5 separate regions of the Homo sapiens genome follow, and all the other regions are linked to region 3. Evidence: promoter capture Hi-C in human tissues and cell types (Jung and others, 2019). All regions are on one chromosome and are shown on one strand. Each heading gives the region's core, a stretch centred on a gene start or on the middle of the fragment in contact. The rest is flanking DNA. Distances are from core to core; before and after follow the strand shown.

Evidence for each region. Contacts are between HindIII fragments. The study calls those that stand out against the background at their distance.
Region 1: the fragment with the promoter of TSPAN33 here is called in contact with the fragment with the promoter of SMKR1 in region 3 in 3 of the 25 tissues and cell types used here (IMR-90 fibroblasts, adrenal gland and small bowel).
Region 2: a fragment that was not itself captured here is called in contact with the fragment with the promoter of SMKR1 in region 3 in 1 of the 25 tissues and cell types used here (hippocampus).
Region 4: a contact is called between a fragment that was not itself captured here and the fragment with the promoter of SMKR1 in region 3, in 2 of the 25 tissues and cell types used here (H1 embryonic stem cells and aorta).
Region 5: a contact is called between a fragment that was not itself captured here and the fragment with the promoter of SMKR1 in region 3, in 2 of the 25 tissues and cell types used here (bladder and spleen).

What each region holds. Positions count from the first base shown.
Region 1 is chr7:129,143,457-129,148,287 of GRCh38, forward strand. TSPAN33 (tetraspanin 33) reads left to right here and starts at 1,251. Exons shown (of 8, transcript NM_178562.5): 1 at 1,251-1,626. The coding sequence starts at 1,525. RefSeq lists a silencer at 1,164-1,373 and an enhancer at 4,236-4,285. The HindIII fragment of the contact is 23,252 bases long and covers 1-4,831 here.
Region 2 is chr7:129,117,716-129,122,373 of GRCh38, forward strand. It overlaps the pseudogene CYCSP20. Among named protein-coding and RNA genes, the nearest start is that of TSPAN33, 25 kb to the right of the region's middle. RefSeq lists an enhancer at 4,520-4,658. The HindIII fragment of the contact is 4,977 bases long and covers 1-3,739 here.
Region 3 is chr7:129,501,055-129,506,036 of GRCh38, forward strand. It overlaps SMKR1 (small lysine rich protein 1), which reads left to right and starts at 1,477. Exons shown (of 2, transcript NM_001195243.2): 1 at 1,477-1,773. The coding sequence starts at 1,771. RefSeq lists silencers at 1,176-1,225, 1,286-1,625. The HindIII fragment of the contact is 29,122 bases long and covers 1-4,982 here.
Region 4 is chr7:129,756,886-129,761,380 of GRCh38, forward strand. It overlaps NRF1 (nuclear respiratory factor 1), which reads left to right. Exons shown (of 11, transcript NM_005011.5): 11 at 1-191. Among named protein-coding and RNA genes, the nearest start is that of MIR182, 11 kb to the right of the region's middle. The HindIII fragment of the contact is 3,652 bases long and covers 840-4,491 here.
Region 5 is chr7:129,818,808-129,823,684 of GRCh38, forward strand. No RefSeq gene overlaps it. Among named protein-coding and RNA genes, the nearest start is that of MIR183, 46 kb to the left of the region's middle. The HindIII fragment of the contact is 7,353 bases long and covers 1-4,877 here.

The DNA of each region.
Region 1 (4,831 bases), core at 1-2,500, 360 kb before region 3:
TCTGATATTCAATTACTTCCGCAGTTTTAACACAATTCCACATGTAACGGCATCGGTCAGCATTATGTCCCACTGCTATTCCAAGCATACCCTGTGCTCCAGCCACAGCAGTCTGCTTATTTTGCACGAAACACATGGCGTGCTTTTGCACCTCCAGGCTTTGGTTCACCCCCTTTTTTTTTAATCCACCTGGATTATGTTTCCCCTCCGTCTCTACTATTCTAAATCCCATCCTCCCCTAATTTCACTTGCCACGCTATCTTCACTAACCTTCTACCAAACGTATTATAATTATTTGTGCGGTTATCATATTTCCACACTGGATTCTTAATTCTGCTAAAACGAAATACTGTAATGCCTTTGATGAGCCTTCCATGTGCCAGCCATGTGCTAAGTGAGCTACATGCATTATCTCATTTAATCCTCAAATCGCCATCTAGGTCAGGACTCTCCCATTTAACATTAAACAAACTGAGGCTCCGAGAGATTAAGTAGCTTGCAGCTTTCACGCAGCTAATTATGGTGGAATCAGATTCCCTCCCCGAGGTTCAACTTGTATTAGTTAGGGTAGCCAGCATAATATATTCGCCAGCTACGCTGCACTCAACCTGTGTGTGCCGGATCAGCATGTTAAAAACGGTGTCTGCAAGTAGACCAAGGGAAGAGGGGCTGCGGGGGCGGGAATTGAGACAGCAATGAATTAGGATGGCGGGATTGGCGGTGATGTTTCCAAATTTCCACTGTTGGGTTGTAGAGCTTCTGAAATAAGCATTTAAAATGTATAGTTACTAAACAAGATTGCATCTACCCTTGGTCTAATTGTTATGTGTAGGTTAGTTTTGTCTCCCTGATTTTATTGTCATCCCCCAGGGATTGTTTCTGTTCTCCCGCGTTCCCAGAGCTTTCGGCGCATTGCTCAACACACGGTGTGCGTACTTGTTGATTTTAATGTATGTGTGTTTGCATATGTGCACAGCAGCTGGGCGGAGGACGTGGGTGTGGGATGCACTGTGCATTCCTTCTCCTCACTCTTGTTCCTTTGAGCAGCTGCAGCCTGGATGCTTTCCCTTAGGGGTAGGGGAGAGGCAGAACCGCTGACCCTTTAACAAGTTATCCCTCACAGAACAGGTGTCTCCCCCGACTCTCGGTGGAGAGGGATGGCTGGATACTTAGTGACATCAGCCACGAGCCAATGGGAAGTCGGGCTCCAGCCGTCGCGCCAATGAGCGGCCGGGGGCGGGCCGGGTTTCCTGGGCGCCTGGCTGGCCGGGCTGGTCCTGCGGCCGCGGGTGAGTCTCGTCCGCTCGCGCTGCCCACCGCGGCTCCAGCAGCTCCAGGCGCGGTTCCCCGGCCCGCGCCGCTCCCGGCCCCCCGGCTCGGGCGCCTCCCGCCGCAGCGCAGGCTCCCCCGCCGGCCGGGCTCCTGCGCGGCGCGGCTCGGCTCATGCCCCCGGGCGCGGGGCACACAGGCCGGCCGGCAGCCGCTGGGAAATAGGCCCCCGGGGGCGGTGGCGGCGGCGGGGCCATGGCGCGGAGACCCCGGGCGCCGGCCGCCTCCGGGGAGGAGTTCTCCTTCGTCAGCCCGCTGGTGAAATACCTGCTCTTCTTCTTCAACATGCTCTTCTGGGTGAGTCTCGGGGTCGAGGGCACCTGGGCGGCGGGGTCCCCCCGCGGGGTGGAAGGGTGGCCCGGGGTGCCCCACGCGCGGGAGCCGCACTGCCGAGTTTTCTGGGCTGACGGCACTTTGGGGGAATTTATCCTGGGGAGGGACACCCCGGGGACGCCGCGTCTGCAGGGGGCGTTGTAGGGAGGAGGGTATGCCAGGGAATCAGTAAAGACTGATGGGTATTCTCGGGGCGTCGGAGGAGGGTCTGTGTTAGGCTAGAAATGTGGGTTTGAGGGAGCCTGTTGGCCCAAGGCGGACCCACTGACACATTCATGATGGGGGTCGGGGGTGGCGGCTGACTTTCAGGCCTGGGGGCCTGGAGGCCCGGCTGGCAAAGAAAGAAGAGGAAGGAAAAACCCAAACCTCTCTCTCCACCACCTCAGAGAGGATGGGTTACTGGCATCATCTCTTCCTTTTGCAGGCCTCATCTACCCCCACCTCCACCCCCCCAAAGTCTAGGAAGAATGGCCTCCAGGTGCAGATGTCTTTCCCATCCCAGCACTGCCCCAAACTTTGTCCCCTCCCTGCCACCCTTCTCAGGACCAGACTTCACCCCTGGAGCCTGGCAATCACCAGTGTCTTTAAACAGGACCCCGTGTTGGGCCGGAGGGCCAGGGGTCCTTTCAGAATCTTCTGCTTGGGGTGGAAAAAGTATTGGGCTGGGACTCCGGACACCTGGATTCCCATCCCACTCTGCCGTTCATTGTTGACTTGACCGACCTAAGCATGTATGTTCATGTCTGCAGGCCTTGACTCCCTCCCCCACAAATCCAACCCAGTGTGATCAGGGGTGGCAGAAAGACTGCTGAAGCTGAGAATTGAGCTGAACCAGATCATGCAATGCCAGCTCGACCCTGTTTCCTGGCTAGAGAGTCCTGGAGGTCCTGGGGTGTGAGAACATAGGGACATCCTTCCCCCATTCACCTCCTCTTCTGGCTCCTACCACACCAGAGCTGCTGCTTCTGGAGCCCACCATCCTTGCCCACTTCAGCTGGAGACCTAAAGTTCAGACTTGCAGGAGGGAAGAATTGAGTCTAAAATATGTTTCCTAGGGGAGGGAGCAGAACAGACATCTAAGCCATTTGCTGGAAAGGTTTCACAGGGCCCGTGGGGTGAGGTGCAGACACAAAGCCCATAAGTGCTGGCCTGTTGGGACAAATGAGAGAAATCCCATAGGGTGGTGATGACAGCGCACTCAGCCATCCTACTCCTGGGGAAAATGAAACTTGTGCTCCTATCAAATGCTCAGTTGTAAAACTGGAAAAAAATTTTAGAAGACATCTTGTCCAGCATCTGTGTTTATGTCTATAAAATGTAGAAAACTAAAGCACAGAGATGTTAAATGTTTTGTCCAAGGTCCAACAGCTGGTTAGCAGGCTTGGTCTGGTGACCTTTCTACTGAACCACAGTGCCGCTGGGGGAAGTCCTCAGCACAGATGGCTGCTGCTATAGCTGGGGTATGGGCAGTATTAGTAGTTAACCAGTCAACCCAAGTTCCCATAGTCTAGGTTCTGCTTCAGCTGGAGGTTAGGGAAAAACACAAGAAAATCCCTTACCACTCTACCAGTGCTGGGGGATGTACTAAGAGACTCCCCACTTAGGGGCAAGTATCAGTGAAGTCTCTGTGCTCACTGAGTGTGCCAGGCCAGTGACGTGACATCCTCGGAGCCAGCACTAGCATTTCAGGGACTTTAGGTCGTCACTCTGACTTCCTTTATCTGCCGAGACTGTCTCCCTTGGAGCCATTGGTACCTCACCCTTGTCTGTGCTCGCCAGTGACAACAGCTGGGTGCATCTGTTACACTTGTGTTCCTGGTCATTTTTTTTTTCTCGAGCTTCCCTACCCCCTACCTCCACCCTACCCCCCTTTTATCGGACAAACGACTTTGAGAGATCTCAGCCAGGAGAGAGTTTGGCTCCACAGACCCATTTACCTTGGTAAAAATGCTTCATTCAAGGTCAGAAGACGTGGGTGGCCAAGCTAGCACCACCCCAAATTAGAATAGAGCCCCTTCTTGGCCCTACAGTAGACTCATAAAAAATCAGAGGCTCTAGAAATAGCACACTGAAAGACAAGAGGCTCAGCATCTTTTTGGCACCAACTTACTGTGTGACCCTAAGCCAATGTATCTGTCTCTCTGACCTTAATCTTTCTCCTCTAAAGGAGAAACAATTTCTGCCTCAGTGAACTATTTAAGGATGAATGAATCATTTTGGGGACTGTTTTCTTTCTTCAAGACCTAGAGCTGGATCTAAGGATGAATCTCCCTGTGTCCTGATTGCCCTTCCTAGGGGACAGTACTTTTCAGGTGTTATTGAATGTCCCTTCTCCCCCAAACCCAGTGCTGCACAGGTATATTCATACAAGAGCAGCTGGAGAGAAAATGCTGCCTCCCCAGATCAGGGGGCCATCTTTCTTCCTAGCTCCTCTTCAGGGACTGGTTCCCATGCTTTCTTTTTTGTAGACTTCCACCATCCTAATCAAATTCTGCTCTTCTGCCCAGGAAGCACCTATGGATGAGATGATGGTCAGCCCACACCCTTTGCAGGCAGAGTGCATGCTCTGGCCGGCTTCTGGAGCTGCCGCATGGCAGTGGTTATTGTGTCTGTGCCTGGAACCCACTAGGAAGGTGTCCGGCATCCTCTGGGCTCTGAATAGTGGTGCTGGTGGTGATGGTGGCTACGTCTGCTGTTGCTCTAGAAGCCCTGACTCTTGGGGCATTTGGAGTCTGACTCAGAAAACTAATGAATTTTGGGGGACTGGGACCAGTTCCTACTGTTCATGTTTCAAATCTCACTTCCCCTTTGACCTGGGAGTTCTGATTTTCTTCCCAGAATCATGTTGCTGGGTTACTGACTGTGGGGATTCCATGGCCTGGAGTAGCTGCTCTAAGATCCTAGATGTTGCATTTAAATCAGTTAGGGTGGCTACAGAGCAGCTGCCTCTCCTCACCTCCCTCTGCAGGACAGCTCCGTGCAGATATTGGGGTGGTGCCTGCTTTCTCAGCTTGGCCATGTGTTGTCAGGAATATTCAGTGCCGCCCACCTCCTTCCTCGCTGGTCCTTTTCCCACTCAGGGCAGCAGTTGGCTGGCTTTTGAGTCAGGCAGAGCCCAGAAGCTCAGACCTCCAGCCCCTGTGTCTCAGCCCAGGCTTCCCTAGCAGCC
Region 2 (4,658 bases), core at 1-2,500, 380 kb before region 3:
CAAAGAGACCATGGAGGTTAGGCTCAGTCTTGTGCTTGCCTCCCTTTTCCGTGGTGTGGCACTGGGCACACTTCTGAACACAAATATTCGTGCTTTTCTCAACATCACCCATATTTAATTCTCTCTTTTGTCACTGGCACTGTGAAGGTTCCTACTCAGAAACCAGATGTCCTGCTCTCTCATTTTTCATTTCTTTGTGTTAAGAACATTCTATATCCATTTTTTAGCTACTTTTTTTTTAGACGGAGTCTTGCTCTGTTGCCAAGGCACACTCTCACCTGACTGCAATATCTGCCTCCTGGGTTCAAGCAATCCTCCTGCCTCAGCCTCCCTAGTAGCTGGGATTACAGGTGCATGCCACCCCACCCAGCTAACTTTTGTATTTTCAGTAGAGATGGGGTTTCGTCATGTTGGCCAGGCTGGTCTCGAACTCCTGACCTCAAGTGATCCGCCTGCCTCGGCCTCCCAAAGTCCTGGGATTACAGGCATGGGCCACTGTGCCTGGCCCGTTTTAGCTATTTGAAGCTATATATTGTTACATCCAGTCATCCTACAGTGGTATAGAACAGGGGTCCCCAGCCCCTGAGCCATGGTCGCATAACAACGGTCTATGGCCTGTTAGGAACCGGGCCACACAGCAGGAGGTAAGCAACAGGCTACTGAGTGAAGCTTTATCTGTATTTACAGCTGCTCCCCATTGCTCACATTACGGCCTGACCTCCGCCTCCTGTCAGATCAATGGCAGCATTAGATTCTCACAGGAGTGCGAACCCTATTGTGAACTGCACATGCCAGGCTCCTTATGAGAATCTAATGCCTGATGATCTGTCACTGTCTCCCATCACCCCCAGATGGGACTGTCTAGTTGCAGGAAAACAAACTTAGGGCTCCCACTGATTCCACATTATGGTGAGTTGTACGATTATTTCATTACATATTAATATTACGATGTAATAATAATAGCAATAAAGTGCATAATAAATGTAATGCGCTTGAATCATCCTGAAACCATCCCCCACTCCCTGGTCTGTGGAAAAATTGTCTTCCATGAAACCAGTCCCTGGTGCCAAAAATGTTGGGGACCACTGGTATAGAACTCTAGAACTTATTCCTTCTATCTAGCTGTAATTTTGTATCATTTAATAAACATCTCTCTAACTCCCACTTCCCTCTGCCCTTCAAGCCTCTAGTATCCTCTGTTTTACTTTTTACTTTTATGAAGTCAACTTTTCTTAGCTTCCACAAAGGAGTGAGAACATGCAGTATTTAACTTTCTGTTCCTGGCTTAATTCACTTAACATAATGTGCTCCAATTCTATCCGCATTACTTCAAATAACTGGATTTCATTCTTTTTTTAATAGCCGAATAGTGTTCTATTGTGTACGTATACCACATTCTCTTTATCCATTCATCTGTTATTGAACACCTAGGTTGAGTCCATATTTTGGCTATTGTGAATAGTGATGCAATAAACATAGGGGCACAGATGTCTCTTTGATATACTGATTTCTTTCCCTTTGAATAAATGCCCAGTAGTGGGATTGCTGTATCATATGGTAGTTCTATTTGTAGTTTTTTGAGGAACCTCCAACTCTTCTCCATAGTGGCTGTACTAGTTTACATTCCCACCAACAGTGAATAAGAGTTCCATTTTTCCACATCCTCACCAGCATTTGTTATTTTTTTGTGTTTCTGATAATAGCATCCTAACCAGAGTGAGATGATACTTCTTGATGGTTTTGATTTGTGTTTCCCTGATGATTAGTAATATTGAGCATTATTTTATATATTTGTTGACCATCCATTTGTATGTCTTCTTTTGAGAAATATCTGTTCAGATCATTTGCCCTTTTATTTATTTATTTTATTTATTTTTATTTTTTTTGAGACAGGCTTGCTCTGTCACCCAGGCTGGAGTACAGTGGCACGATCACAGCTCACTACAACCTCTGCCTCCCAGGTTGAAGCCATTCTCCTGCCTCAGCCTCCCGAGTAGCTGAGATTACACCCATGTGCCACCACCACACCCGGATAATTTTTTATATTTTTAGTAGAGAGGGGGTTTCACCATGTTGGCCAGGCTGGTCTCCAACTCCTGACCTCAAGTGATCCACCCTCCTGACCTCAAATGATCTGCCTGCCTTGGCCTCCCAAAGTGCTGGGATTACAGGTGTGAGCCACCATGCCTGGCCCATTTGCCCATTTTTTAAATTGAATTATTTGCTTTTTTGCTATTGAAGTGTTTGAATTCCTTGTATGTTCTAGATAATAATCCCTTGTTGGATGAATAGTTTACAAATATTTTCTCTCATTCTGTTGATTGTCTTTTCACTCTATTGATTATTTCCTTTGCTGTGTAGAAGCTTTTTAGTTTGATATAATCCCATTTGTTTATTGTTACTTTTGTTGCCTATGCTTTTGAAGTCTTATAAAATCTTTTCCCAGACCCATGTCCTGAAGCATTTCCCCATGTTTTCTTCTAGTAGTTTTATAGGGTTGGGTCTTACATTTAGGTCTTTGATCCACTTTGAGTTGATTTTTGTATAGGATGAAAGTCAGGAATCTAGTTTCATGCTTTTGCATATGAATATCCAGTTTTGCCTCAACCATTTATTGAAGAGACTATCAATAAGGGTTCTTGGCACCTTTGTCAAAAAACAGTTGGTTATAGATACATGGATTAATTTCTGGGTTCTCTATTGTTCCAGTGTTCTATGTGTTTGTTTTTATGCCAGCGCCATGCTGTTTTGCTTACTACAGCTTTGTAGGATATTTTAAAGTCTGGTAGTGTGATGCCTCCAGCTTTCTTTTTGCTCAAGATTGCTTTGACTATTTAGGGTCTTTTGTGGTTCCATATACATTTTAAGATTTTTTTTCTATTTCTATGAAGAATGTCGTTGGTATTTTGATAGGAATTGCATTAAATCTATAAATTTCTTTGTGTAGTAAGATTTTGTTCTGAATGCTAAAACTGTAGGTATAAATAGGATGGCACTGCTGGCCCAGAGGAAGGCCTGATTAGCCAGGGTGCCCCCTAATAGCTCTGACTTCACTAGTACCCAACCTTCTCTCAGTACTTTGAGGGATTAAGACAAAAATATCACATCATAAGTCTGATGCTGAAACAAGTTTGTTCCTTTAATGAGATAGTTTTTGACAAATTGGATCCAACATCTCCTGTTAAAATGGAAATACATATTTAGAGTCGTGGTAGGGCAGGTAGACAAGTAACAAGCCTGAGTGGCCATCACCACATTGGTATGAATTAATTTAGGAACAAAGAAAAACTTCCTGGGAGGATATGATCTATAATGGGATGGTTGGGGGGGGGGGTTGTTAGTGGTGGTGGTAATGGGTTATTTTAGTTTTGAATGTGTGTGTTGCAGGGAAGGAAAAAGGTTGGTGGAGAGTTCAGAGCCAAAGCCATGCTGAATGACAGGTGGAAGACAGTCTGATGGATCATAGTCACTGTTCTTAAAGAATACATAATTCAGGCTTGCATGAGACAAGATGAACCACTGACATCCTAATTTCTCAAAGTAGTCATTGGAAATGGAAAGAAGAGCCAGGATTTATTGGAGGGTATATTCACACAGAAGGGGTTCATGAAGGTGAGGGACCCTTTCACCTCCCCACTGGGCAGAAAGCACTTGCCAGAAGAAAGGGTTGCAAAAGAAGGTTGAACTCAGCAAGAAAAGTGCCTTGGGTCAGTCTCTGTACTGCTAAATAGGGCCTACCACCCTACCCTGCCAATCCCTACATAGGCCCTGTCTTCAGTAAACACTAGAGTTCGCTTACCTTCCATTCCAAGAACCAATCTGACATCTGCTGTATTAGTCTGTTTTCACACTGCTGATAAAGACATACCCGAGACTGGCTAATTTACAAAAGAAAGAGCTTTAATGGACTTACAGTTCCACATGGCTTGGGAAGCCTCACAATCATGGCGGAAGGCAAGGAGGAGCAAGTCACATCTTACATGGATGGCAGCAGGCACAGAGAGGGCTTGTGCAGGGAAACTCCTATTTTTAAAACCATCAGATCTCATGAGACTTATTCACTATCATGAGAACAGCATGGGAAAGACCTGCCCTCATGATTCAATTATCTCCCACCCAGTCCCTCCCACAACATGTGGGAATTCAAGATGAGATTTGGGTGGGAACACAGCCAAACCACATCATCTGCTGTGCCTCATCCCACAGATAGCAGAGCTTCCTCCTAATCTATCAAGAGTTCAGCATTTAGTGAGTGGTCAGGATCTCACCCTTCATTTAACCAACTAACCACCACCAACCAACCACCACCATCAGAGGTGGGCCTAAGGCAGGCCTTGGGGTCTCTGGGAAGTGGGCCATGCTCAGTCTACATCCCAATGTGCTATGGCTCCTGACACTCTGAGCAGGGGCTCTCCCTTGCACACACCAAAGGAATGACTGGGCTTAAAAAACGTGCCAACTTGCTTATAAATCAGTCTCCTCAGATTCTACAATTCACCGAGCCATAAAACCTCAGAGCTTCAAAGATGCTTAGAAAATATCAAGGCCAGGGTTCCCAGGAAGCCTCAATGCTGCCATTTTACAAAGGAAGAAACTGAAGTGCAGAGAGATTAAGGGGCTTGTCCAGGTCACACAGCTACTTAGTGGTAGATCTGTAA
Region 3 (4,982 bases), core at 227-2,726:
TCCAGGGCATATGGACTCATAAGAAAAACTCACAGACATATTAAAAGTAGCTGGAAGTTGGGTTTGCTCTGTTAATGAAGGATTAGGGAAAGCATATGTAAGAGAACCTAGAACATAAACAGTCCTCTTTGGAAGCCAGTTTGTCTTTCAAGAGAAAGCAAACAAAACACCACATCCTTGCAGAGCCTTCCAGGACCCTACTCCTGCTTCTTGGTCTAGCCTCCTCCCCCTGTCCCTAATTTTGGCATAATTGACTGCTCCTTGTCATCCAGATCTGTTTTAACGTCACCTCCTCAGAGAGGCCTTCCCCAGTCACCAATCTAAAAGAGCACCCAGTGGTCACATCAATTTAATGCAATATGCCATACTGTCCCTATCACTTTTAATGTCTGCCAGGCCCTCCATTTCAGCCACGACCACCTCCCCCAAATCACCCCTTAAAAGAACAAGGACTTTGCCTCATTCAGAGCTCAATTTCCAGGGCCTGGAAGAGTGTCAGGCACGTGGCAGATGCTCAATAACTGTTGAATAAAAAGGAATGATAGGCCGGGCAGTGGCTCACGTCTGTAATCCCAGCACTTTGGGAGGCTGAGGCGGGCAGATCACCTGAGGTCAGAAGTTCGAGACCAGCGTGACCAACATGGCGAAACCCCATCTCTACTAAAAATACAAAAATTAGCCGGGCATAGTGGTACGCATCTGTAATCCCAGCTACTCAAGAGGCTGAGGCAGGAGAATGGTTTAAACTTGGGAGGCGGAGGTTGCAGTGAACCGAGATGGCGCCACTGCACTCCAACCTGGGCGACAGAGAGAGACTCGGTCTCAAAAAAAAAAAAAAGGAATGACCAGTCATAAAAAAGAATGAGTCGTACCACCCGAAGTGTAGACTTCACCTGCAGGGAGGGAGGCTGGAACTGGCAAGGTTGGAGGCAAAACTGTACCTACTGTACCTTTCTCGCCCAATCCTACCTGCACATGAACTCCCTCCCCACCCCTTTAGTCTCTCGGGCCCTTACTCTCTTTATCCGGCTCTTTTGCAAACATTTCCCATGATATTCTCCCTTCACCGTCACAGTCCTTATGCTCGTTTCCCAAAAGAGCTTCTCCGATGATCTCTCCCAGGTTGGCCGAGTGAGCGGGCCTAGCCTGCGCTCTCACCCCAGTGCCACCCCAGTGGGAGCGCCGCCCGCGCCCGCCCCCTCGCCCCGCGCCCGCCCCCTCGCCCCGCGCCCGCCCCCTCGCCCCGCGCCCGCCGCTCCGGCAGCCCAAACCCAGACGCTAAAGCGCCGAACTGGGTTTCCGGGCGCTGGAGGCCGCGGTCGGCCTCGTACTAGGTGACGGCCCATCCCGCGCGCGCAAGCCCGGAACCCCGCTCCGCTCACCCTCCGCGCGCTGCCGCTTTGCCCTGGCAACGGTAACCACGGCGAGGCCCTGCCCCACGCCCGGTGATTGTGCGCGCGGCCCCGCCCCCGAGGCGCACGCCGGCCCAGCGCCCACAGCTGCGGCGGCCTAGGTGCCGCGTGGGGCAAGCAGGTGCCTCGCGTCCAGGCGGCTCCGCGGCTGGCTGCCTCCCGAGCCGGCCGCGCTCCTCCCAGCGAGGCGTGGCGGGGAGGCGTAGTGAGGCTGGGCCCGTGGCGGTTCCCTGAGGAGGGCCGAGAAGGGGCCGGGGGTGCTAGGGGAACGGGCGCTGGGGGCAGCGGCCCCGGTGGATGCTAAGGGCTTCGGGATCGGGAGAGTCCACCACGCCTGCCTGCTCGGCTGAGAATCGCCATGGTAATCCCCGTCTCCCTAAAGTACCCGGGGCCAGGGCGCGCGCCGTGGAGCCCCAGGCTGTCCCGGAGAGGCGCGGGCGCCGAGGTCACCGCCTCTCCCTGGGGTCGACCTCAACGCGTGGCGAAAAGATGGAGGGACAAGGGGTGCCCGGCGGTCCGCGCCTGCTGGGGGCGCAGCAGCCGCGGAGTCAGGCCAGCCGTCTTTCCAGGTTTTAGGTCGTGGTCCTGTTGAGCAGCCCCCACACCCAGACGGTTGATGTGGAAAATAAAGGGAGGGTGGCACCGTGGTGTGGCACGTCAGGGCGCCAGGCCATGCCCACAGTGACGGGTCCGAGCTGTTAGCTGCCGTAGCCACCCTGGGTGCCCGCGCGGGATTCTCCACTGCTCTGCAGACTCAGGAAGCAGAGAGTGAGCCTGGTACCACCACCTTGCTGTCAACAGCATTCCTGTTCTCAGCCCTCATCCAGTCACTTACGACCTCCTTCCAACCCTCGCTGCTCTTTCCAGAAGGGCTGTGACCTTCCAGCCCCTGCCCCAAGTCCTCAGGGAGGCATCATTGTCTGCTAAACTAAGTACTGCACGCTTGAGCTGGGCGCACAGAGCCCTTGCTAAAGGGGCCTCAACCTCGAGCTTTCTCTGCCATATCTTCTCTGCTAAACAACAACAAACAAAACGAACAAAAACCCTGCATCCCACACTAAACCCGCGTTCTTCTGGAAGCCCCTTGCGCCTTCCCTGTCTTGATCCGTTTTCTTTGAGGCTTGGATCAGAAGGACCCTGCCTCCTGCTTCCCCATCGCTCCTTCAGCGCCCACAGCCCTTTGCACCTCACCTCTGGTGCTTTGCCTGTTTTTCCTTGGAAAGCCTTATTCCTCATTAGACTCTAGTGTAGAAATCATTAAGTTTCTGTGTTCTTTCCAGTTTGTTTCGTGTAAAAGGATTAAGTAAAAATTTCTTGGTTTGAGAGTCATTCCATGAGCTATTAAAGGTAAAGAGCTATTACCTTTTTTTTTTTTTTTTTTGACAGGGTCTTACTTTGTCACACAGGCTGGAGTACAGTGGTGTGATCACAGCTGACTGCAGCCTCCATCTCTGAGGCTCAAGTGATCCTCCCGCCTCAGCCTCCCAAGTAGCTCGGACCGTAGGCAGGCATCACCATGCCTGGCTAATCTCTGTATTTTTAGTAGAGACAGGGTTTCGCCATGTTGCCCAGGCTGGTCTCAAACGCCTGGGCTCAAGGGATCCGCCCGCCTTGGCCTCTCAAATTGCTGGGATTACAGGTGTGAGCCACTGTGCCCAGCCAACTGCCATTTCTTTCAGGGCCCAGGGAACTGAGGCAGAATGCTGTACATAGCCATTGAAGCAAATGCCAGTTAATTCATGCTCCTTGAATGAGGGTCAAACACATTAGTGCACAGAGCCTGCAAGCCAGAGCGGAACCTTGCCTACCTTTCCTTCCTTAGCTGCTCTCACTGGCCCCCTTGGCTGCCTGTGGGCTGGCCATGTTGGCCTTTTTTGGGTTTCCGTCTCTTTGTGCACCTTCTCTCCGGCTTCAGAGACTTTGCATAGGCTGTTGGTCTTGGAATTCCCTACTCTCGGCCCACAGGCCACGCTTAGGGAGCCCTTCCTTTGATGGCCCAGATGAGGTCAGCCCTTGCCCATCTTGTGCTATTATAATTCCATGTGTTATAGGCATTATAGGGTCTTTCTTTATTAATTTCTTTGTTTTTGTTTTTTTTTTTTTAGAGATAGGGTTTTGCTTTGTTGCCCAGGCTGGAGTGCGATGGCATCATACATAGCTCACTTTGGCCTTGAATTCCTGGGCTCAAGGGGTCCTCCCACCTCAGCAGCCTGAGTACTGGGGACTACAGGTGTGTGCCACTGAGCCCAGCTAATTTTTTAAATTTTTGTAGAGACCGGATTTTGCCATCTTTCCCAGACTGGTCTCAAACTGGGTGCAAGTGATCCACCTGCCTCGGCCTCCCAGAGTGCCGGGATTACAGGTGTGAACCACCATGCCTGGCCAATAGGGCCCTTTCTTCACAGCATGGGTCGTGAGTAAATGCATTTGTGATTAGGTGACTAGTGTCTTCCTCAGACCTCACTGGACTGTAAGCATCGTGAGATCTCCTTTGCTCCCCATCTAATACAGGGCCTGGGACACAGTAGATTTTTGTTAAATACTTGTTGAATGAATGAAGGAGGCATCTTAAAATTCAGAAAAGCAGAAATCCACATTTGCTTTCTAAATCCTGTTATTGCATTGCATCTCAGTTGTGATGTATTCATTCACTCAGCAGATATTTATGCATCCTTGCAGTGTGGCAGATATTGGTGTAGGCTGGGGAATTCAGTGGTAAATTTATAGACAGAATCTCTGGTGAGGGAAACAAACAATAAACATAAACAACAATTACTATTAACTAGTGAAAAGTGGTGCGGGGAAGGAGATGGACAGTGACTCTACTGGGGTTGCTGGGAGACTGTTAAAGACAGACCACTGTACTTCCCCCTGTCCCTAGCCTGGGACAGTCTCAGTTTATGTTTGTTTATATTTGTTGAAGTATCTTGATTTGGGCAATAAATTATATGGTCACTCCAGTTACAGACAGAATATAGACATGGTGTCAGGGAGGTCTTTCTTTTTCTCTTTTTCTCTTTTTTTTTTTTGAGACAGAGTTTCACTCTTGTCGCCCAGGCTGGAGTGCAATGGCGCGATCTCGGTTCACTGCAACCTCCGCCTCCCCGGTTCAAGCAATTCTCCTGCCTCAGCCTCCTGAGTAGCTGGGATTACAGGCACCCGCCACCGTGCCTGGCTAATTTTTTTTGTATTTTTAGTAGAGATGGGGTTTTACCATGTTGTCCAGGCTGGTCTTGAACTCCTGACCTCAGATGATCCACCGGCCTCGGCCTCCCAAAGTGCTGAGCCACTGTGAGCCACCATGCCCAGCCTGTCAAGGAGGTTTTTCTAAAGAGGTGATATTTGAGCAGAGGCTAGCGTAAAGAGAAGCAACGAATTCTGCCCCTTCAATTAGAAGGTCTGCAGGAAGAGCAAGCATTGCCCAGGGAGAAGCTCGGAGTGTTGGGAACTAGAAGAAAGTCCAGTGTGGCTGGAGTCAAGTGGTTTTCCTTAAGGAGTTTGGAGGGTTTTAAGTTGGGAGCTGCATGTTCTGAGACCAGGAAAAGCCAAGAGCCACAAAGTTGTATTGAA
Region 4 (4,495 bases), core at 1,416-3,915, 260 kb after region 3:
TTATCGTCATTGTGAAGTTGTCCAGGGACTTTAAAGTCCATGTTCCTTTGTGGTGAAATAACCTCCAAATAGTTTGAGAAGTTGCCAAGACGAAGAAAAAAGCAAAACCCCAGTAGCAGAGCATGGATTCTGTGTTGTTTCCCATTCTGTCTTTGACTGCCTCATTCAATAAATAGTTAAAAATGTGGCAACAGGAAGTGGAATTGTTCATCTCTATAGGAGCTCTTGGCTTCTTAGGCAAAAGGAACTCTATCTTGGGGCAGCTCGTTCTGCGTTTAAAATGCAGTCCTACTCGAGATCAGCGGTCTCCGACCTGTGCCACTCCGACGCTGGGGACCTCCGTAAAGAAGACACTGAAGATTGCCCAGAGCCCCCTGCGAGCCCCATCACCAGACCTGCTCCATTTCATACATTTCATATATAACGTGTTTTCTTATACTGACGTTCTGGGGAAAAAATCGTATTTAAAAAATCCTAGGCCGGGCACAGTGGCTCCCGCCTGTAATCCCAGCACTTTGGGAGGCCAAGGTGAGTGGATCACTTGAGGTCAGGAGTTCCAGACCAGCCTGGCCAACATGGTGAAACCTTGTCTCTACTAAAAATAGAAAAATTAGCTGGGCATGGTGGCGGGCGCCTGTAATCCCAGCTATTCAGGAGGCTGAGGCAGGAGAATCGCTTGAACCCAGGAGGCGGAAGTTGCAGTGAGCTGAGATCACACCACTGCACTCCAACCTGGGCAACAGAGCGAGACTCCATCTCAAAAAAAAAATAAAAATAAAAAATGAGGGTGAGTGATGGTGCCTCTCCATCTTGGGAATTACTATTAAAGTGAATTGTCTTTCTTTCTCCAAGCAGAAGCCTCAAGCCATGACTTGTTCCCCTGCATCCTCACTCCCTGGTTTCTCACACAGCTTACTCTCTTAACATGGCATATGCCATCGCTCCAGCTGTTCCTCCTGCCCCATCCTTAGGCCCTTCATAGACCCCAGTAGCCTGCACCTCCATGCTTCTGCATGCCCTGGCCTCAGCCTGGAATGACCTGCTGTCACCCCCACCACCCTTTCTTTATATTGTTGGGTGTCTTGGCCACTTTCCTGGTGACCATGATTAGAATGCTTGCTTGGATGGGAAGGCCAAGAAGCCTTTTCCTTGATGCCTGATGGTGGTTCAGTGAAGCCAAGTGCCTACCTTTCCCCCTTCTTGCACAAATGGCATACCCTCGCCTATTTTTCACCAGAGACTGGACTAGAAAAAGGATTGAGTGCAGCCAAATCAACCACACATCCGTGCTATTGACTACCATGAAATAGCTGGGTTGTTTAGAATACCTGCTGACCAAGGGTCTCTCCAGAGGCGTCTTCTAGCTGCTGTTTGCCTGGCAAGCCTCAGATGCTGCCTTTGCCACAGGCATGTATTGACAACTGGTTTTGGTGGGGCCGATGGAGACCTCTTCCATTCCTGCCTAAGTCACCAACAGGAGCTGCTAACTCCGCTGTCTATAGAGACCAGGGAGGTCAAATCAATGAAGGAAGCTGAGGCAATTCCCATGTGAGAGGAGGGAGTGATGGGGACAGGCACAGTGGACAGCATCCATCTAAACGGGGCAGCCTGTCCTAGGTGCTGATTGTCACCATGCAGGAAGATGGACCCTAATGCCCCAACTTCAAAATTGTCCAGAGAATCTGGGGAATCCAGATTTTTGTACGAGATGTGATCGCAACAAATAAAAAATTTACATACTCTGCAAGCAAAATAAAACCCATCTGTAGACCAGACCTGACCTGACGGTCAGTTGCACTTAACTACGTGAATGCTTGTCATGTGCCAGGTGAATGAAGCATGGTAGTTGCCTGTGAGAAACAAGGAGTGAGGAGGAGACCTTTACATAAACCAACCGCTGCAGTCCAAGGTGATGAGGCACCATCTGGACAGAGCACTAGTGCAGAATGAGCTGTTTACCGCATTTGAGCCCTCAAAGGTCCTCTGTTACGTAGTTTATCATCTAGGCTCCACACAAGGATCTGGTGCTCACAGAAACCAGGAGACTGGTCTAAAAGTTACTGGCTTTAAGTCTTGCATCTGAGAAGGCCCACTGGTGATACAGGTGACTACTGGCATTCTCCAAACTTGAACAAATTAGCTGAGGAGAACCAGAAGGGCAGAGCAGAGGAGGGGTTCCTTGCCCTGGGCCTCACTCACGCCCAAGGAACGCTCTCTCCCCCTCTCAGTAATGCCTCCGAAGCTTGAGCTCTGGGCATGGCAGAGTCGTACCGGGCTCCTGGTGTTTCCTTTTGGTGTCAGCACCAAAACTCATCAGGGAGGAAACTGGAGCTTAATTATTTGGAGCAGAAGCTACGTGGGGTGAGGGAGTAGAGTCCGTGTTTTCCCTCTCACTCCACCTCAGCAGGCTGGTGGCACCTTGGTCATCACAACTGGGGCTTCAGATGCCCCATCCCTGCACTCCCACCCGGCCTCTGCTGTTTACTCCAGGAGGCAGCTCTTGGAGGTCACCCAGGATGCTGGCGGCAGCATGGAGGAAGGGGTACAATAGAGAGGGGAGGCAGGGCTCCGGGACTGGGCTCCGACTGAAATCACTGAAGAGCGTGGGTTTCCTCTTAGTCCCCAAGCCCCTCTGAATATGAGTTTCTCCATCCTGAAAACCACTGGGCTGCTACCAAACATTTGTTGAGTATTGGAGGCCTGGAATATATAGTGAGGAAAGGAGGAAGAAGGGATAACAGTCATCTGCAGAGGGGAACCAAGGTGCCCTGAGAACCTAGAGCCTCCTTAGGAGGCAGGAATAGGCCTGGGTCCTGAGCCCTCTCCAGGGCTCAAGCTTTGCTAGCTTGCTTACGAGAACTATGGTTTGTCTACACAGAGTGTATGGTAGCAATGATAACAGTGAACACTTAGCCCTTACAATATGCCTTGTACTGTATTAAAAGATTTACCTATATATTAATTTATTTAACCTTTACAAAATACTATCATCCCCGTTTTATAGATGAGCAAACTGAAATACAGAGAGGTTAAGTTAAACAACTGAGCCAAGTTCACACTGCTGGTAAGAGGCAGAGCTAAGGTACAAACCTGGGCGGGCAGGCTGGCTGGTCCCAGAATCTGTGCCTAGAAAAACATGACTTGAGCCTCATCACTCTGTCACCCAGGCTGGAGTGCAGTGGTGTGATCTCGGCTCACTGCAACCTCCACCTCCCGAGTTCAAGCAATTCTCCTGCCTCAGCCTCCCTAGTAGCTGGGATTACAGGTGCCCACCACACCCAGCTAATTTTTTTGTATTTTTAGTAGAGATGGGCTTTCACCCTGTTGGCCAAGCTGGTCTTGAACTGACCTCAAGTGATCCACCTGCCTCAGCCTCTCTTAAGTGCTGGGATTACAGGTGTGAGCCACTGCGCCAGGCCCCGATGATACACTTTTCTTGTGGCCTGGAATGGATGAAAGTGGAGGGTATAAGAGCATTCAGTTGGGGCCCGGCGCAGTGGCTCACGCCTGTAATCCCAGCACTTTGGGAGGCCAAGGCGGGCGGATCACGAGGTCAGGAGATCGAGACCATCCCGGCTAACACGGTGAAACCCCATCTCTGCTAAAAACACAAAAAATTAGCCGGGCGTGGTGGCGGGAGCCTGTAGTCCCAGCTACTCAGGAGGCTGAGGCAGGAGAATGGCGTGAACCTGGGAGGTGGAGCTTGCAGTGAGCTGAGATCGTGCCACTGCACTCCTGCCTGGGTGACAGAGTGAGACTCCCATCTCAAAAAAAAAAAAAAAAGCATTCAGTTATTTTTTAAGTAGCTTAATTAATTTTTGGGAGGTTCTCCCCAAATTTTATGTACTTGGCAAATAAAATTTTTAGTGAAATTTAAGTTTACTGGGTCTCAACTGAAACTTCTGAATTTATCTACCCTTTAAGAAGCTTAATACACTTTAGGAGGCCAAGGCAGGTGTATTGCTTGAACCCAGAAGTTTGAGATCAGCCTGGGCAACATGGTGAAACCCCATCTCTACAAAAAATATAAAAATCAGCCTGGTGTGGTGGTCCATGCCTATAGTCCCAGCTACTCAGGAGGCTGAGGTGGGAGGTTCGCTGGGGCCCAAGAGGTTGAGACTGCCATGATCATGCCACTGCACTCCAGCCTGGGTGACAGGGCAAGACTCTATCCAAAAAATAATAAGTTACAGCTATCAATTACTAAATGGCTACTAGCATTTTACTGTGTAAAACACCTTACACCCTTATTTCTAATCCTCTTCACAATCCGGTAAGAAGAGACTCCATTTTATGGGGGTGGAAACTGAGACTTGGCATCTTCCCCAAGAACTAAAAACTGGAGGGCTGAAATAAGGCCTGATGTGTCTGTCTGTTACAGCTCTGCTCTCTATGCCAACCATTCAGAGGACAAAACTGCACATCAGGATTATAAAGTAACCTCCACTGTGTCCTGAGCTTGATAGACCTGGAATAGCCTCCCGTGGCTGGACCT
Region 5 (4,877 bases), core at 2,317-4,816, 320 kb after region 3:
AACTGATCTGCCCGTCTCGGCCTCCCAAAGTGTTGGGATTACAGGCATGAGCCACTGCACCCAGCCATATTTTGTTTTAAAGTCTATTTTGTCTGATATTAGTAAAGTCACTGCAGCTTTCTTATGGTTACCATTTGTATCATTTTCTATTAAAATTTTTTCAACCGATTTGTATGCTTAAATCTAAAATATATCTCCTATAAATAGCATATAGTTGAATCTTGCTCTATTCATATTTTTGAAGCTGATTAAGGCAGGGCATGGTGGCTTACACCTGTAATCCCAGCAGTTTGGGAGGCTGAGGCAGGTGGATCACCTGAGGAGTTCCAGACCAGTCTGGCCAACAAGGTAAAACCCCGCCTCTGCTAAAAATACAAGTTAGCCGGGCATGGTGGTGTACTCGGGCGGCTGAGGCAGGAGAATCGCTTAAACCTGGGAGACAGAGGTTGCAGTGAGCTGAGATCACGCCACTGCACTCCAGCCTGGGCAACAAGATCAAAACCCTGTCTCAAAATTAATTAATTAATTAATTAATTAATTAAAAAAATAAGGCTGGGCACGGTGGCTCACGCCTGTAATCCCAGCACTTTGGGAGGCCGAGGCGGGTGGATAACGAGGTCAGGAGATTGAAACCATCCTGGCTAACATGGTGAAACCCTGTCTCTACTAAAAATACAAAAAATCAGCTGGGCGTGGTGGCAGGTGCCTGTAGTCCCAGCTAGTCTGGAGGCTGAGGCAGGAGAATGGCGTGAACCCGGGAGGCGGAGCTTGCAGTGAGTCAAGATCGCACCACTGCACTCCAGCCTGGGCAACAGAGCGAGACTCTGTCTCAAAAAATAATAAATAAATAAATAAATAAATAAATAAATAAATAAATAAATAAAAATAAAGCTGATTAGAAGCTGCGTGCATGGATGAGCTTGTCAACTGATGACCTTCACCAATTGTAATCTGATAGGGCGATTTCATTGGGAAACTCCTAATGTTAGTATCTTTGGGTCCTTCCTCTTGAGTTGGTCTGAGTACTTACAGAGGAGCCCTTCCATTTCCTGCCTGAATGGAATAAGCCTTGCTCCCAGGCTTGTGGGAGCTGCGTTAGGGAGGGAGACCGTGATACCATTCTGCACATTAACTGTCACTTTAAACCTAGATTTTTGGTATGGTAATTTCCCCTCAGCTGTGTTCATATCCCCTCCTAGCAGAATCCTCTAGTCTTCTGCTCAGCTGGGAACGGGTCAGTAGCCTGGGTACACAGAAGTGGGGAGGAGCTCTAGATCCCCAAAATGTCTTAAGCTTTCTTTCTTTCTTTTTTTTTTTTGAGGCGGGGTCTCACTCTGTCACCCAGGCTGGTATGCAGTGGCGTCATCACAGCTCACTGCAGCCTCAACCTCCCCGGGCTCAGGTGATTCTCCCACCTCAGGCTCCCAAGTAGCTGCAACTACAGGCTGTATGCCACCACACCTGGCTAATTTTTTTTGTAGAGATGGGGTTTCGCCATGTTGCCCAGGCTGGTCTCCAACTCCTGGCCTCAAGTGATCTGCCCACCTCAGCTTCCTAAAATGCTAGGATGACAGTCATGAGCCACCGCACCTGCTGTCTTAAGCTTTCAACTTGACCTCCTGTTACAGTCCTTCGTTTACCCCTCACTGATCAGAGGAACCTGGAACCACTGATCTTTGGGGTGGCAGTTTGCAGTGTTTTGTTTTTAATCTATTAAGTTAGCTACTACAAGTACACCTGTTTTCTAGTTTTCAATGGGTTGTTTGTTTGTTTGTTTTACAGACAAGGTCTCACTGTCCCCCAGGCTGGAGTGCAGTGGCGCAATCATAGCTCATGGTGACCCAGAACTCCTGGGCTCCAACAACAAGAATCTTTTTGTTGTTGTGCTATTGTTGGTTTGCCAATGTCTAATCTTCCTTACTTTTTATGTCTGTGGGTTATGTGCCTTGCCCACTTTTGTAACCCTCTACTGTCATTTTAGTGGGGTTTTGATGTCAGAGGAGTGAGATTAACCCGCATGGTCAATTGGTCATCTTTTTTTTTTTTTTTTTTTTTTTGGAGACACAGTTTTACTCTGTCAGCAGGCTGGAGGGGAGAGGCGCGATCTGAACTCACTGCAACCTCACCTCCTGGGTTCAAGCAATTCTCCTGCCTCAGCCTCCTGAGTAGCTGGGATTACAGGCACCTGCCACCATGCCTGGCTAATTTTTGTATTATTACTAGAAACAGGGTTTTGCCATGTTGGCCAGGCTGGTCTCAAACTCCTGGCCTCAAGCGATCCACCTCTCCTGGCCTTCCAAAGTGCTGGGATTACAGGCGTGAGCCACCACACCTGGCCATTGGCCATCTTTAATCGAAGGCCACCTTCTTCTATTTAAAGCTTTGGTTTAGATTTATTCTTTTATCTGCACTTTTGGAAGTCTCTCTTCCTAAGTGTCAAGATACCGCTTTTCCCATTTTGGCTACTGCAGACTCTAAGAGGACATGGTAAACTTGGGCTCATAACTGCACCTTTCTGTTCCTCACCTGAATACTAAAGATGTGTATTAGTCAGGATTATTGATTGCAAATGACAGGAAGGAGCTTGACGTTTTCCCCTGAAGGAGAAGTCCAGGGAGGTTCTCAGGCAGCCTCTCTGCAACCTGGTTCTAGTCTCACCAGCTTTGAGCTTTGCAGTCCCAGAGGGAAAAGGCTCTTCACTTTCCCAATGGTTTCAACAGAAGCCCCAGTCATGTGCTACTCTCTGAACGGAGTAGGGGACCTGACTGGCTGGCTGGGTCAGAGGGCCCCACCACTGCGGGGAGGGGGAGTTTTGGAGTTAGCTTCCAAGAACCACTTGGATGAGGTGAGGGAGGCAGGGTTGTTCCCTCAAATAGCATTGCAGTACTGATACCAGAAGAAGGGGGAACAGATGCTGGGTAGGCAGAAATAACAGGTGTCCACTGCAGGGTTATCATACCAGCCTCATGGCCTTGCTGTAAGTTAAACCCTTAGCTGGGTGCCTGAAACATTAAAACACTAGCTGCTGTTGCTGTTGTTATGACTGTCACTGTTAACAGGGAGACTTTGTGGCTCGCCTTTTTATCCTGAACAACACATTCCTTTGCTAGGGCCAGAAACAGGCACAGAACCTGTTTCCCTCGGCCTTCTGGCCATGCAGTTGGCAGCGAGGCTCAGCAAAGCCTCCTGATCCCATGCTCTTCTCTCAGTTGGGTCTCCTCTCCTTATCATCCCTGCCTCCTCCTCCAGGTGTCACACCTTGGCCTCACCCTTCTCACTGAAAGAACACACATGTACTTTGCCACGTACTTAGCCGCTATCTTGGAGTGACTACTTGGAGTGTGGGTGTTGTAGCTTTGTGATGGTTGCTCAAATAAGTTATAAACTGCTGGGGATTGGGCCAGGGTCTTACATGCCTCCAGCTAAACCCCTTTCTCCAAGGCCTAGAATGCAAACCTGGCCACACACAGGATCCAGTAAGTCCCAGGCAATTGAGGGGTCTAGCTGGTGGCAAGGCCTGGAGGGAGGACATCAGATCACCGGGCATTTGGCCCATCTCTGCCAGTTAAGGACTGAGGTCCACTGCTAGTCACTGTGACAGAGCCTGTTCTATATGTTGGTAAAGCCAACCTCTCCTATTCCTTAGTAATATTAATAGAATCCTGATTTTTTAGAATTGCAAAATTTCAAATATAGACCTTAAGACTTTTACTTAAAAACAGACTAAAGGCCGGGTGCAATGGCTCATGCCTATAATCTCAGCACTTTGGGAAGCTGAGGTGGGTGGATCACTTGAGGTCAGGAGTTTGAGACCAGCCTGGCCAACATGGTGAAACCCTTCTCTACTAAACCATTCTCTACTAAAAATACAAAAAAAAAAAAAAAAAAATAGCTGGGTAGGGTGGTACGCACCTGTACTCCCAGCTACTCGGGAGGCTGAGGCAGAAGAATCGCTTGAACCCAGGAGGCAGAGGTTGCAGTGAGCCAAGATTGTGCCATTGCACTCCAGCCTGGGCAACAGAGTGAGACTTCATCTCAAAAACCAACAAACAAAAAAACAGACTAAAGAAATTTTTATTATGAAAAATGTATAACCTATTTAAAACAGAGAATGGTATAAAGAATGCCACATAGCCGTCATTCAGCTTTAACACATGGCTAACCTTGTTTCTTCTATTACATTCCCACCCCATTATTGGATTATTCTGAAACAAATCTGGACATATAATTTCATCCATAAATTCAGTAAGTATTTCCAACAGGTGATTTTTGAACATATACACTAGTAAATATATACATATGCACAATATCATATAAAACACAATACCTTTATCACAAAACACAATACCTTTCTCACCTATAGAAAAATAATCACCAGGTGTGGCGGCTCACGCCTGTAATCCTAACACTTTGGGAGGCCAAGGCAGGAGGATGGCTTGAGCTCAGGAGTTTGAGACCAGTCTGGGCAACAGGGTGAGACCTCACATCTAAAAAAACCCCAAATAATTACCTGGGCATGGTGGCGTGCGCCTGTGGTCCCAGTTACTTGGGAGGCTGAGGTGGGAGGATCACTTGAGCCACGGAGATTGAGGCTGCAGTGAGCTATGGTTGTGCCACTGCACTCCAGCCTGGGCAATGGAGTGAGATCCTTTCTAAAAAAAAAAAAATCATAATTTATTCATATCATAACATACTACTTATTGTTTAAATTTCCCCAATTGTCTCACAATTTTTTAAAGAGCTGACTTGTTCTAATAAGTTCCAAAAATGCAAGGTCCACGTTACACTAGAACCCCAATTTTATTCAAGGGGGCAATGTGCCCAGGTGAAGAAGTATATTTCCCAACTTCCCCTAAGCAGGGTGTGGGCCTGTGGCT